2 separate regions of the Homo sapiens genome follow, and region 1 is linked to region 2. Evidence: promoter capture Hi-C in 16 types of primary human blood cells and fetal thymus (Javierre and others, 2016). All regions are on one chromosome and are shown on one strand. Each heading gives the region's core, a stretch centred on a gene start or on the middle of the fragment in contact. The rest is flanking DNA. Distances are from core to core; before and after follow the strand shown. Region 1 overlaps OR4C11 (olfactory receptor family 4 subfamily C member 11). Region 2 holds the start of OR4S2 (olfactory receptor family 4 subfamily S member 2).

The links. The method cuts DNA at HindIII sites, captures the fragments that hold promoters and counts their contacts. A CHiCAGO score of 5 or more calls a contact.
Region 1: a contact is called between a fragment that was not itself captured here and the fragment with the promoter of OR4S2 in region 2, in 1 of 17 cell types (neutrophils). The highest score is 5.8, in neutrophils.

The regions. Positions count from the first base shown.
Region 1 is chr11:55,597,355-55,603,058 of GRCh38, forward strand. OR4C11 (olfactory receptor family 4 subfamily C member 11) reads right to left here. Exons shown (of 4, transcript NM_001004700.3): 4 at 5,006-5,704. Among named protein-coding and RNA genes, the nearest start is that of OR4C11, 7.4 kb to the right of the region's middle. The HindIII fragment of the contact is 2,735 bases long and covers 2,782-5,516 here.
Region 2 is chr11:55,646,740-55,652,388 of GRCh38, forward strand. OR4S2 (olfactory receptor family 4 subfamily S member 2) reads left to right here and starts at 1,588. Exons shown (of 2, transcript NM_001004059.3): 1 at 1,588-1,811; 2 at 4,129-5,649. The coding sequence starts at 4,165. The coding sequence ends at 5,100. The HindIII fragment of the contact is 13,020 bases long and covers 1-5,649 here.

The DNA of each region.
Region 1 (5,704 bases), core at 2,899-5,398, 47 kb before region 2:
TTTGTCTGTTATTGGTGTATAAGAATGTTTGTGATTTTTACACATTGATTTTGTATCCTGACACTTTGCTCAAGTTGCCTATCAGCTGAAGGAGATTTTGGGCTGAGATGATGGTGTTTTCTGGATATACAATCATGTCATCTGCAAACAAGGACAATTTGACTTCCTCTTTTCCTAATTGAATACCCTTTATTTCCTTCTCCTGCCTGATTGCCCTGGCCAGAACTTCCAACACTATGTTCAATAGGAGTTGTGAGAGAGGGCATCCCTGTCTTGTGCCAGTTTTCAAAGGGAATGCTTCCAGTTTTTGCCCATTCAGTATGATATTGGCTGTGGGTTTGTCATAGATAGCTCTTATTATTTTGAGATATGTCCCATCAATACCTAATTTATTGACAGTTTTTAGCATGAAGCATTGTTGAATTTTGTCAAAGGCCTTTTCTGCATCTATTGAGATAATCATGTGGTTTTTGTCTTTGGTTCTGTTTATATGCTGGATTAGGTTTATTGATTTGTGTCTGTTGAACGGGCCTTGCATCCTAGGGATGAAGCCCACTTGATCATGGTGGATAAGCTTTTTGATGTGCTGCTGGATTTTGTTTGCCAGTAGTTTATTGAGTATTTCTGCATCGATGTTCATCAGGGATATTGGTCTAAAATTCTCTTTTTTTGTTGTATCTCTGCCAGGCTTTGGTATCAGCAGTATGCTGGCCTCACAAAATGAGTTAGGGAGGATTCCCTCTTTTTCTATTGATTGGAATAGCTTCAGAAGGAATGGTACCAGCTCCTCCTTGTACCACTGGTAGAATTCGGCTGTGAATCCATCTTGTCCTGGACTTTTTTTGGTTGGTAGGCTATTAATTATTGCTGCAATTTCAGAGCCTGTTATTGGTCTATCCTAGCCAGTTGCGGGATAGAATCTGGTGTGAAGTTTGCTAAGCCTGTTGGAAAAGCGGAGTACTAGGGTGAGAGTAACCCAATTTTCCAGGTGCCATCTGTCACCTCTTTCTTTGCCTAGGAAAGGGAATTTCCAGACCCCTTGTGCTTCCCAGGTGAGGCGATGCTTCACCCTGCTTCGGCTCATGCTCAGTGTGCTGCACCCACTGTCCTGCACCCACTTTCCAACATTCCCCAGTGAGATGAACCCAGTACCTCAGTTGGAAATGCAGAAATCACACATCTTCTGCATCGCTCATGCTTGGAGCTGTAGACTGGAGCTGTTCCTATTCGGCCATCTTGGCTCCACCCCCCGTGAATGTTTTTTTAATTCTTGCTGTCTTCAGTATTCTTTGTCTTTGATAATTTGATGATGATTGTCTTGGTGAATTCCTCTTTCAGTTGAATTTGATTGGTGACAACTAACCTTCCTGCACGTGGATGATGTTGGCTTTCCCCAGATTTACAAAGTTTTATCTATTATTTTCTTAAATACGTTTTCTGGGTCTTTTGCTGTCTCTGCTTCATAAACTTTTTAAAGTATAAATAATAGTTTGTCAGATGATGTCCCATGATTCCTGTAGTCCTTCTTTATTTTTTTCATTCATTTTTTATTTTTGCTCTTCTAACTGGATAGTTTCAGATGTCTTATCTTTGAGTTCACTGATTTTTTTCTTTTTTTTCAAGACTGCTTTTGTAGCTTTCCATTGAATTTTTTTAATGTAGTTATTCTTTATCTCTAGGATTTTGATTTTCTTTTAAAATTGTTTCTATTTCTTTGTAAAATCTTTCATTTTGTTCATTGTTTTCCAAATTTTATTTAATTTTGTATTTATATTTTCTTAAAGTTCTCTGAACCTCTTTAAAAGGATTATTTTGAATTCTTTTGTCAGTTGTTTCACAGATCTGCACTTCTTCTGAGTCTATTATTGGAACTTTATTAGATCTTTTCATGATGTTATGTTTACTTGACTTTTCATAATCTTTGTGTTCTTAGATAGATACCAGTGCATTTGAGAAGATAACCTCCTCTTCTACCTTTGGTGGTGACAAACCTTTATTATTTGTCTATTCTGGGTTCTGGATGAGCTGGCTGGTAGCAACTCCAGACAGGCAGACCATGGTGTTGGGTTATCTAGTTGTGCTGGATAATGTTTTGTCTTCTGAGGTTAAATGATACTGATGGCTATGCTTCATGGACTGATGAGATCACTCTGACACAAAATGGAGCTGCTGGTTGGCAATACAAACATCTCTGATTAGGCAGGGTGACAGGATGTCTCTCCTAGCTGCACCATTGTTGTTTGGAATCTGCAGTTTTGCAGAGCTGTGTGCTGGAATCTGAAACAGGGTGAGGTCTATGGGCTTGCTGCTAGGCCACACAGGTATGGCAGGGCCTAAGACTACGCTTGATATGTTTTTACTTGGGCTTGCCTCCCAGCCTAGGGTAGTCTTAAGCAGAGTACTGAGGCTTGGTCCACTTATGATGCAGCTGCTGGGGTTTAATGGGGGCAGACGCTCCCTCCATGGATAACACTGACTTGCAGTTGGCTCCTGGGATGAGGAAGATGTGAAAATGTGGCTTTCCTCAGTTCTCTGGTCCAAAAGGGTTTCTCAGACTCACTCTCAAGTTCTGGAATGCTCATTATAGTATTTTTTTGCCTCTGGTTAGTTGCTAGTTGAATTTCTGTCAGCATCAGGGGAGTGAAGCTGGAGAACTCCTATTCTGCCATGCTGCTAACATTACTTTCCATGATCAACCTCTTTGTCTTTTCATTCTAATATTTTATTTACAATGTGTCTTTATAATGATATTTTTAGGTTCAACCTATTTGGAAAACTTTAAGCTTCTTCAATGTCAATTTTCATTTCCCTTTCTATGCAATGTATAAGAGTTCCTGTTGTCCCACATCCTTGTCAACATTTGGTGTTGTTATTATTTTGAATTCTGGTCATTATAATAGGGGTGTAGTTGTATCTCATTGTTTTAATTCACAATTCCTTAATAACACATAGTGTTAAGCATATTTTTATATGCTTATCTACCCATATATGTTCCTCTCTAATTTTACTTTGTTTTTACAACACTGCTTCTCAATGGTGTCTTCTAAAAGTGTGTGTATAACCATGGTAGAAAATAGATGGGAAGACAAGGGAAAAGGAGGTTAAAGAGGAAAGAAAATTTCATTAAGTATTCAGTAGTCCAATCAATTAACCAAAAATTGTTCTTGTGGGACCTCAATATAAATAGATTTTCAATCATCTGTCTCTTGCACCTTGTGTCAGCATTCAGGTGAAATGAAGAATAGAGAAGGAATCAGAAGAGTGAAAAGTAGAATACACTATTCCAGCTTATGTGCTAATAACTATATGTAAATGATAATCTAGAGTTTGTTCACCTCTTATCTCTCCTATTTTAAACCTCAGTTACATGCCAGAAACCAATTTAAATTGATATCCCTTTGCCCTACTTTATGATTACCCTCTTATATGTTCATATCAGAAGGATACTCCTCTCTTTCCTTTACATACGGACTATTTAAAGTTGAAGATGCAAATGTGCAGATACCGGAGCATGTTCCATAAAGACTCCCTCCTTTTATTTTAAAGTGATACCAATATGCTTAAAATTCTGTTATGTTTTTATTTAATCCTATTAAAACAAAACTTGACGGTATTATTTTCAGTTAAATTTTATTTCAAATTATAAATGACATTCTTTGAAAATAAAAGAAAAACGTTAATAAATATGGATGGTTTATAGTAATAAAAACATAGATTTAAATTAATTTTTTGAAAAATCTATTTTATTGTGAAAACGGTTCATATTAAATTTGTTATTTTTAAGCTCTTTATGAATATCATTTTCTTTAATTCTGATGACAAGCCAATTAAATATAAACTATTTTAACTTTTGATTTACAGATAAAAATTAGGCCTAAGATTTCATATATTTTTCTTAAAGTTACAAGGCTTTAAATTGGTAAAGCCAGGATTTGGATTTATGTAGTGTGACTCTAGAGTGCTTACTACTTTAATCATTATATTCCACCACCCATCTTAAAGTTAAAATAAGTGCAATTCATAATCACTGCATCAACTTCCTTATACTTTTTATATTTTTGGCCATTTGAAAAGATGTTTGAATTAAGATTTTTTTTTACCAACATAGGAGACATATAGAACTGAGTTAAAACCTTAATGCTGTTACTTCTCAGCAAGACAATCTCAAGGGACTAATTTGTTCAGTTCTCTCACCTTTAGATTTTTCACCTTGAAATTTAATTTTTCAATAGAAATACCAAACTTTGTATTATTTTAGTAGACACAAGTATAATAAAAACAAAGAATTTGGACACATTTAAACGCTACTTGTTCCTGAAATGAAGAGATAATCAGAATTCATACTTTTTCTTTTAGGTCAATCACTTTTGAGGGAGGATGGTCACTCCAAAGTTACCCATTGAATGGATATGGTGTTGCAGAACATTTAAAATATTTTATCTTTATTTTCCATTTCGATTTAACTAATAGTACTTCTACAATACACAAAACATTTCAATATTCTTCCCCATATAGCTTCCTCTTATTATATTTTCCAATCTTGATTTATTTATTTATATTTTAGTTTATTCGTTTTCTTTTTTTTCCTGTGCCTGTGCTTACCCATATACCTTTTTCCTAACTTTTAATGTTCAATTATTTATCTGCAATGCAAATCAACATAAAAGATTTTATATGGTATGTGTGTGCATATGTGTGTGTGTGTGTGTGTGTATGTACATTTGTTGTTGTAGTGAAGGATATTAGATAAGTTAATAATGGAATCATTACATTTCCATTGTCTATTAAATATATGGCCTTTCTCGTGTATGACATGTCAACTTTGGGACACTAGTGTGAACACTGGAAACATTACATCACAGAAAACAAAATGAAGTGAGCACATTAAAAAACATGTTATTTAATTGAATTTATTTTAAATTTATATTTGACAGGAGAAAATAATTTCAATTGGTAATATTTTTCATTAAATAATGATAAATAAGGTTAAAAATGAAATTGAATCTGTCAACAGTTATTAAAGATGTGGTACACTTATTACACTGAAACAGATGAATATTAAAAGTCCATAATATGAATATCTAAAGTGCCGCTTTTTATCTGCTGTCCTCACTCTGGGCATGAAAATTCCATTGCCAATTCTAACTTGTGATTCTATGCAGCCCCAATTATTAGGACAGAATAAATAGAGATGTAACTTCCTATAGCAGTAGTGGGTTCCCTGTTTAGGGAGAACCCACTAGAGACAAGTGTCCTGAGTGTTTTCTGAATTCCTGTGATAATTTTATTTATTTCATTGACATCACCCAACTTTAAACACAATAGATCATACCATTTTTGGTTTCAACCATGTTCTACCCTTCTGCACTTCAGGCTCAGGAAATATGTTGTATCTCCAGTATATTAGCCTCTGACTCAAAAATACAGAACTTTTTAAATACAAAGTAGTGATAAAATGTAAATGGGCATCTTGATATACTGAGTTAGTTCCTTTTCCCTAGAAGTGTTCAGGAGGAAGCTTGATACCTTATTGCAAATGCATTAGGGAAGGAATTTGACATTTCTTTGTTGGTGCTCACAAATTTGAACACTTGTGATTGTATAAATGTCTTTCTTTTTATTAAACCAGAGTGTAGACAGAGTTGTGATGTGTAGTTCACAACCAGCAATGGCAGAATTGGGCTCTTAGGAAAAGGAAGAGCCA
Region 2 (5,649 bases), core at 338-2,837:
CTTATATCTTTTATTAATTTACTATCATTTTCCTATCACATGACATGTAGCTGTCTTTTTTAATCCAAGTGATAATTCTCATCAGATATCCTTCCTTTGCACACATTTCTGTTATAAAATATGAACATTAATATTCCATTATTTATATATTATATTTAGCATTTGTTCCAAAACATATTTTTAAACATCTCCTAGATCTCAAAGTACATTTTGCAAAGTAGGAATAGAAGATATACTGACTCGCCCCACTACTCATCTAAATAACTGAGCAGCAGAATAGGGATCTCCAAAGATGTTCACATCTTAGTCCTCAGAACTTATCAATATATTTTGTTACATGATAAGGTGATTAAGATTGTAGATAAAAATTAAGTTTGCTAGTCAGTTGACCTTAAAACAAAGATGTTATCGTGCACTATCCATGTGGGCTCAACGTATTCACAAGGTTTATTTAAAATGGGAAAGTGAAGCAGAATAAGTTAAATTTGAAGATGCTACACTGCCTGCTTTGGAGATGAAGGAAAGGGGCCATAAGGAAGCTGGTAGATTCTAGAAGCTGGAACAGAATGAGTTTTCCCCTACAGACTTCGGAAGGATTCATCCTTTCCAATGCCTTGATTTTAGCCCAGTGAGCCTCATTTTGGACTTCTCACCTGCAGAACTGTGAAATACTGACTTTGTATTGATTTAAGCCACTAAGTTTGTGGTAATTCATTGCAGCAGCAACAGGAAACTAACACACTAGCTTAATCATGATGAATGTTTCCACAAACCTGGGCATAATTGCTCTTTTACTTCCTACTCTTTATTTTTCACTCATTTCTTCTGCTAACTCCAGATAGTGAAAATATAAGTAGGATCTCTTGGACATTTTGGATGTTGTTTGAAATAAAGAAAAAGGTAAGATAAGGTAAGAAGAGTAAAGTAAAAAAGTCAAGCATGGGGAAAGAAACTAATAGAAATAGGAAGAGAAAAAGCAAGATTATTATTAGTTTTCGTGAGTCAACCTTAAGAATTTACAATATAAAAGTAAATGAATTAAATTCAACACCATACTTATTCCAAGCATAGGCCAAACATGAACCTTATCCCAGCTATTTCTCCATAAATCAGCATAGAATCAATTAAGAAGAAAAGCAATGTTCCCAAATAGCACAATCGAATATACTATTTTCTATTACAATATAGCTTTCAAGAAAGAACAATTACAATTCAATAAATAACATAAAACAGATATCTTAATATGTTATATCAAATATGGACTATTTAATGCATATAGTAAAGCATATTAATTCAAAAACAAGGTTTAGAATGATAAAATTATTACTTCTCTTGGCTGAATTGCTTTGGATTAGGGCTATAGTCGTTAATATGAGAATTGATCGGTTTTTGTATTTAGCAACAATTTTTAAAATTTAATTTTAAAAAATTGAACAGACACTAGAATTAAAGTTCATTGGTAGGGCTGCAATTTGATTTTGACTATGGAGGAAGACTTTGGGGAAAAGCTGTCTCCAAGGTCATTTATCATTTTGCATCTTCCTCTTTAAATAGACCTGTAAGAATAGAGAAAACAGCATTTATTGTCAAAGACCCTGTGAAATGGCAGGTATCATTAGGTGAGAAAACCAGGAACAACAAAGACTCATTTCTACCAGCCTTTCAGTTTGGGGGGTCAGGTATTTTCCGGTACTAATTATTCACAAAGGAATTCCCTAGGCATCACTGTTACTTTACCTTGGGAAGCTGCACCCAAATTAACTCAAGAAGAGATAGAAACATAAAGTGAACTCAAGCTCTGGAAAATACTGGTGAGATTTTTTTTTCTTTTCAAACGAATACAGAATATTTGTGGAAAAAGATAATTAAATTGTTAGATTTTGAACATTTATAAAATAATGGAAAAATATTGTTCTCTGAAATACAGAGAGAATGAAATTATTAAAATCATGATAGTAAGATAGTAACATGTACCTAAACATGACTGTGAGGAAGGGTAGGATGGACACAAATAAGAAAATGTCAATAATTTCAAAGGAAAGTGAGTCATTATGCCCAACATGCCCAGATAAAGGAGGAAGGCATCCTTGTGATGGATATTGGCTTAAGGAGAGAAACAGCAAGATGTTACTGCATCAGTTGGAGTCAAGAGAGGCCATGATTCAGAAGGTTAACAGCCTTTACTAGGATGCACATTCTGATAAATGGAACTTTAGATCTCAATCCTGCAATTAAGATAAATGAATACCTGAATAAAATAGATTGGTGAATGAAAAAAAAAATTCCTCTAGAACCTTGTGATATGGACGGTAGGGGAAAAAATCCTCAGGCTTGTGTGCAAAAGCCCAGTTTCTTCTAGATGAGAGCAAAGCAACATAAATAATTGTTGCTCAAAACTGCTATGTTGTGAGCTTCCTTAAGTTGAGGGGCTCTCTTAGTGGAGGATGGTATTTTTCTTTTAATTCAGCAGGATAACTGAAGAGGAATGAGCATGTAAAAGCAGGGGATGTGCTTGAGACTGTATCTAAATCATATTACTATTACTCTTACAATCATTATTTTGTAATGCACAAGAGATAGCACACCTGTAATGACTACTGTGCCAACTCTAACATGAATACCTGAAGAAACACAATCCTATAGATTCCCAAAAGCTGGAAGTATTAGGCACGACTTCACTGCATAAGGATAGCTGAGAGCACAGAGTTTAGTAGGAGTTGTCAGCATTCAGCTGGATGGATCTTGAGAGGATCTACAGGTCTCTGCTAGACCACCTGTAATTGGAGGGATCATTTACACCTGCGGTTGATTAGCGAAAGAATCCTAAAAGCTCCTTTAATCAAAACTATTACAGATACCCTTTTCCATCCATGTACCAATGACCCCATTGTAGTGCCTGAAATTTCACCAATGAATATTCATCCATTTAGATAAATGTCATTTTCCTAAACCCATTAAAATTGTCATTCAGTGATGATCTCTTCCAGAAATATAAATCGACCAAATTGGGAGAATGAATATGGCCAGAATAAAACTTGAAAGATTAGAAAGATGTATGAAGCAATGTTGACATTAAGGGACAGTCTTCTCTTTTTTACACCCATTTTCTTCGTTTCAGTTAATAGAAAAATGTTTAAAAATACAAAGCAAAGTCAGTCCTGGAAAATCCTAAAGTATTCTGAGTTTGCACATGGAGAAATTACATAAGACTTCACTCCCTCTCCTTTCAAATCAAACAGGTCTTGCTTTGTCTCTAGAAGTTTCTTTTATTGCTTTACCTTATTTCTGCCTTCCTATCAGGGTTTTATGAATATTTCATACTGACAGAAGTGATTTAAGTTCACGGCTGAAATAACTATTAATGTGATATGTAACAGTGAAATTGAAACTGTCATTTCACAAATGGGATAAGAGAATTTCTGTTAAGTTAAATAATTTACCTTGGGGGTTACAGTAGTATCATTTTAGAATCAATTTTGTGTAATTTTGCTCCTCTTTCTATTACCTCACACTACATCTTGACTATCAGGGCTCGAGACCACACTGGTGGAGGTGCATACATCATGTGCACAAAGATAGAGTTTCATGAGAAGAACTTGCAAAGGCAAGAGTGGTTAAACTTGCAGAGAAATTGCAGAATATTTGTGAGTTGATGTGATAATCAGGCATGGCAGTATTCAAAAGGTGAAATGTGGGCGTATGTTTTCACTTATGGGTCAAAAATAAAGCAATCATTTCCAGATATTTGCCAGTAGATAACATAGATGTTACCATATCCCAAAATACAGAAGTTGTTTCAAAACTCAGTGTCGTATAAAAAATAAAAACTAAATAAAGTTTAGAAACAGCTAAATAAACATTAATAAAAGGTGAGAGAAGAGAGGCATGTGGTAACATATATATGAGATTGAGGGGATTTACTTTATCTCTCTGGATTTTGCTTTCTCACCTGAAGTGAACGAATGTGATCTTATCTTGAGGTAAGATGATCAAAATAGATGCATTTCAATTTCTTCAAGTATGCATGCCAATCAGCATTTTTTCCTCTTTTGATCTACTGTGATTTTCCGTTGGTTCTGCGTTAGAAATAAAATAAATACAGTCCTTTTTATGTTTTCTTTTTTTCAGGTAATTTAATTGTCTCCTAAGAACTTGACCCATTCCATGGAAAAAATAAACAACGTAACTGAATTCATTTTCTGGGGTCTTTCTCAGAGCCCAGAGATTGAGAAAGTTTGTTTTGTGGTGTTTTCTTTCTTCTACATAATCATTCTTCTGGGAAATCTCCTCATCATGCTGACAGTTTGCCTGAGCAACCTGTTTAAGTCACCCATGTATTTCTTTCTCAGCTTCTTGTCTTTTGTGGACATTTGTTACTCTTCAGTCACAGCTCCCAAGATGATTGTTGACCTGTTAGCAAAGGACAAAACCATCTCCTATGTGGGGTGCATGTTGCAACTGTTTGGAGTACATTTCTTTGGTTGCACTGAGATCTTCATCCTTACTGTAATGGCCTATGATCGTTATGTGGCTATCTGTAAACCCCTACATTATATGACCATCATGAACCGGGAGACATGCAATAAAATGTTATTAGGGACGTGGGTAGGTGGGTTCTTACACTCCATTATCCAAGTGGCTCTGGTAGTCCAACTACCCTTTTGTGGACCCAATGAGATAGATCACTACTTTTGTGATGTTCACCCTGTGTTGAAACTTGCCTGCACAGAAACATACATTGTTGGTGTTGTTGTGACAGCCAACAGTGGTACCATTGCTCTGGGGAGTTTTGTTATCTTGCTAATCTCCTACAGCATCATCCTAGTTTCCCTGAGAAAGCAGTCAGCAGAAGGCAGGCGCAAAGCCCTCTCCACCTGTGGCTCCCACATTGCCATGGTCGTTATCTTTTTCGGCCCCTGTACTTTTATGTACATGCGCCCTGATACGACCTTTTCAGAGGATAAGATGGTGGCTGTATTTTACACCATTATCACTCCCATGTTAAATCCTCTGATTTATACACTGAGAAATGCAGAAGTAAAGAATGCAATGAAGAAACTGTGGGGCAGAAATGTTTTCTTGGAGGCTAAAGGGAAATAGTTGGACTTAATAATTTAAGCTAGATGACCTTAAAATTTCTCAGCCTTGGTTAACTCATCTGTGCAATCAAGACAATAACAACCTCATGGGATTTGGAGTGGAAAAATGAGACAATAACACATTCAAAAGAGTAAGGTATTATTTTTCATTATTATAGCATTTTTATACTATTTCATAATTAGATAACTTCCTGAAATATCTATGACACAGAAATATTATTAAACTTAGAATCACAAAAGTGCAGAAGAGCAATTCCTCTTGGCTTTCCTTTGAGGACAGATTTCTATTACCCTACCTTGCTATTCACTGGTTTTATCATCATCCCTGAAAGCAGAAACTCACCATATGTATAAAGTGGAGGAAATAAATTTTAAAAAATTTAGAATTTCCAAAAGTGTGGGAAGTGTTTTCATATTTTTGGGCTTAAATTGTGAGGTTTCGGGCAGTACAGTATCACTCATATATTTCCTTCTAAATAAACAATCCTCTACCCTGCTGCCTAGGCTATGTATAGAGTAGTGGGGAATTGATAAGGTTGTAATGTGTGCT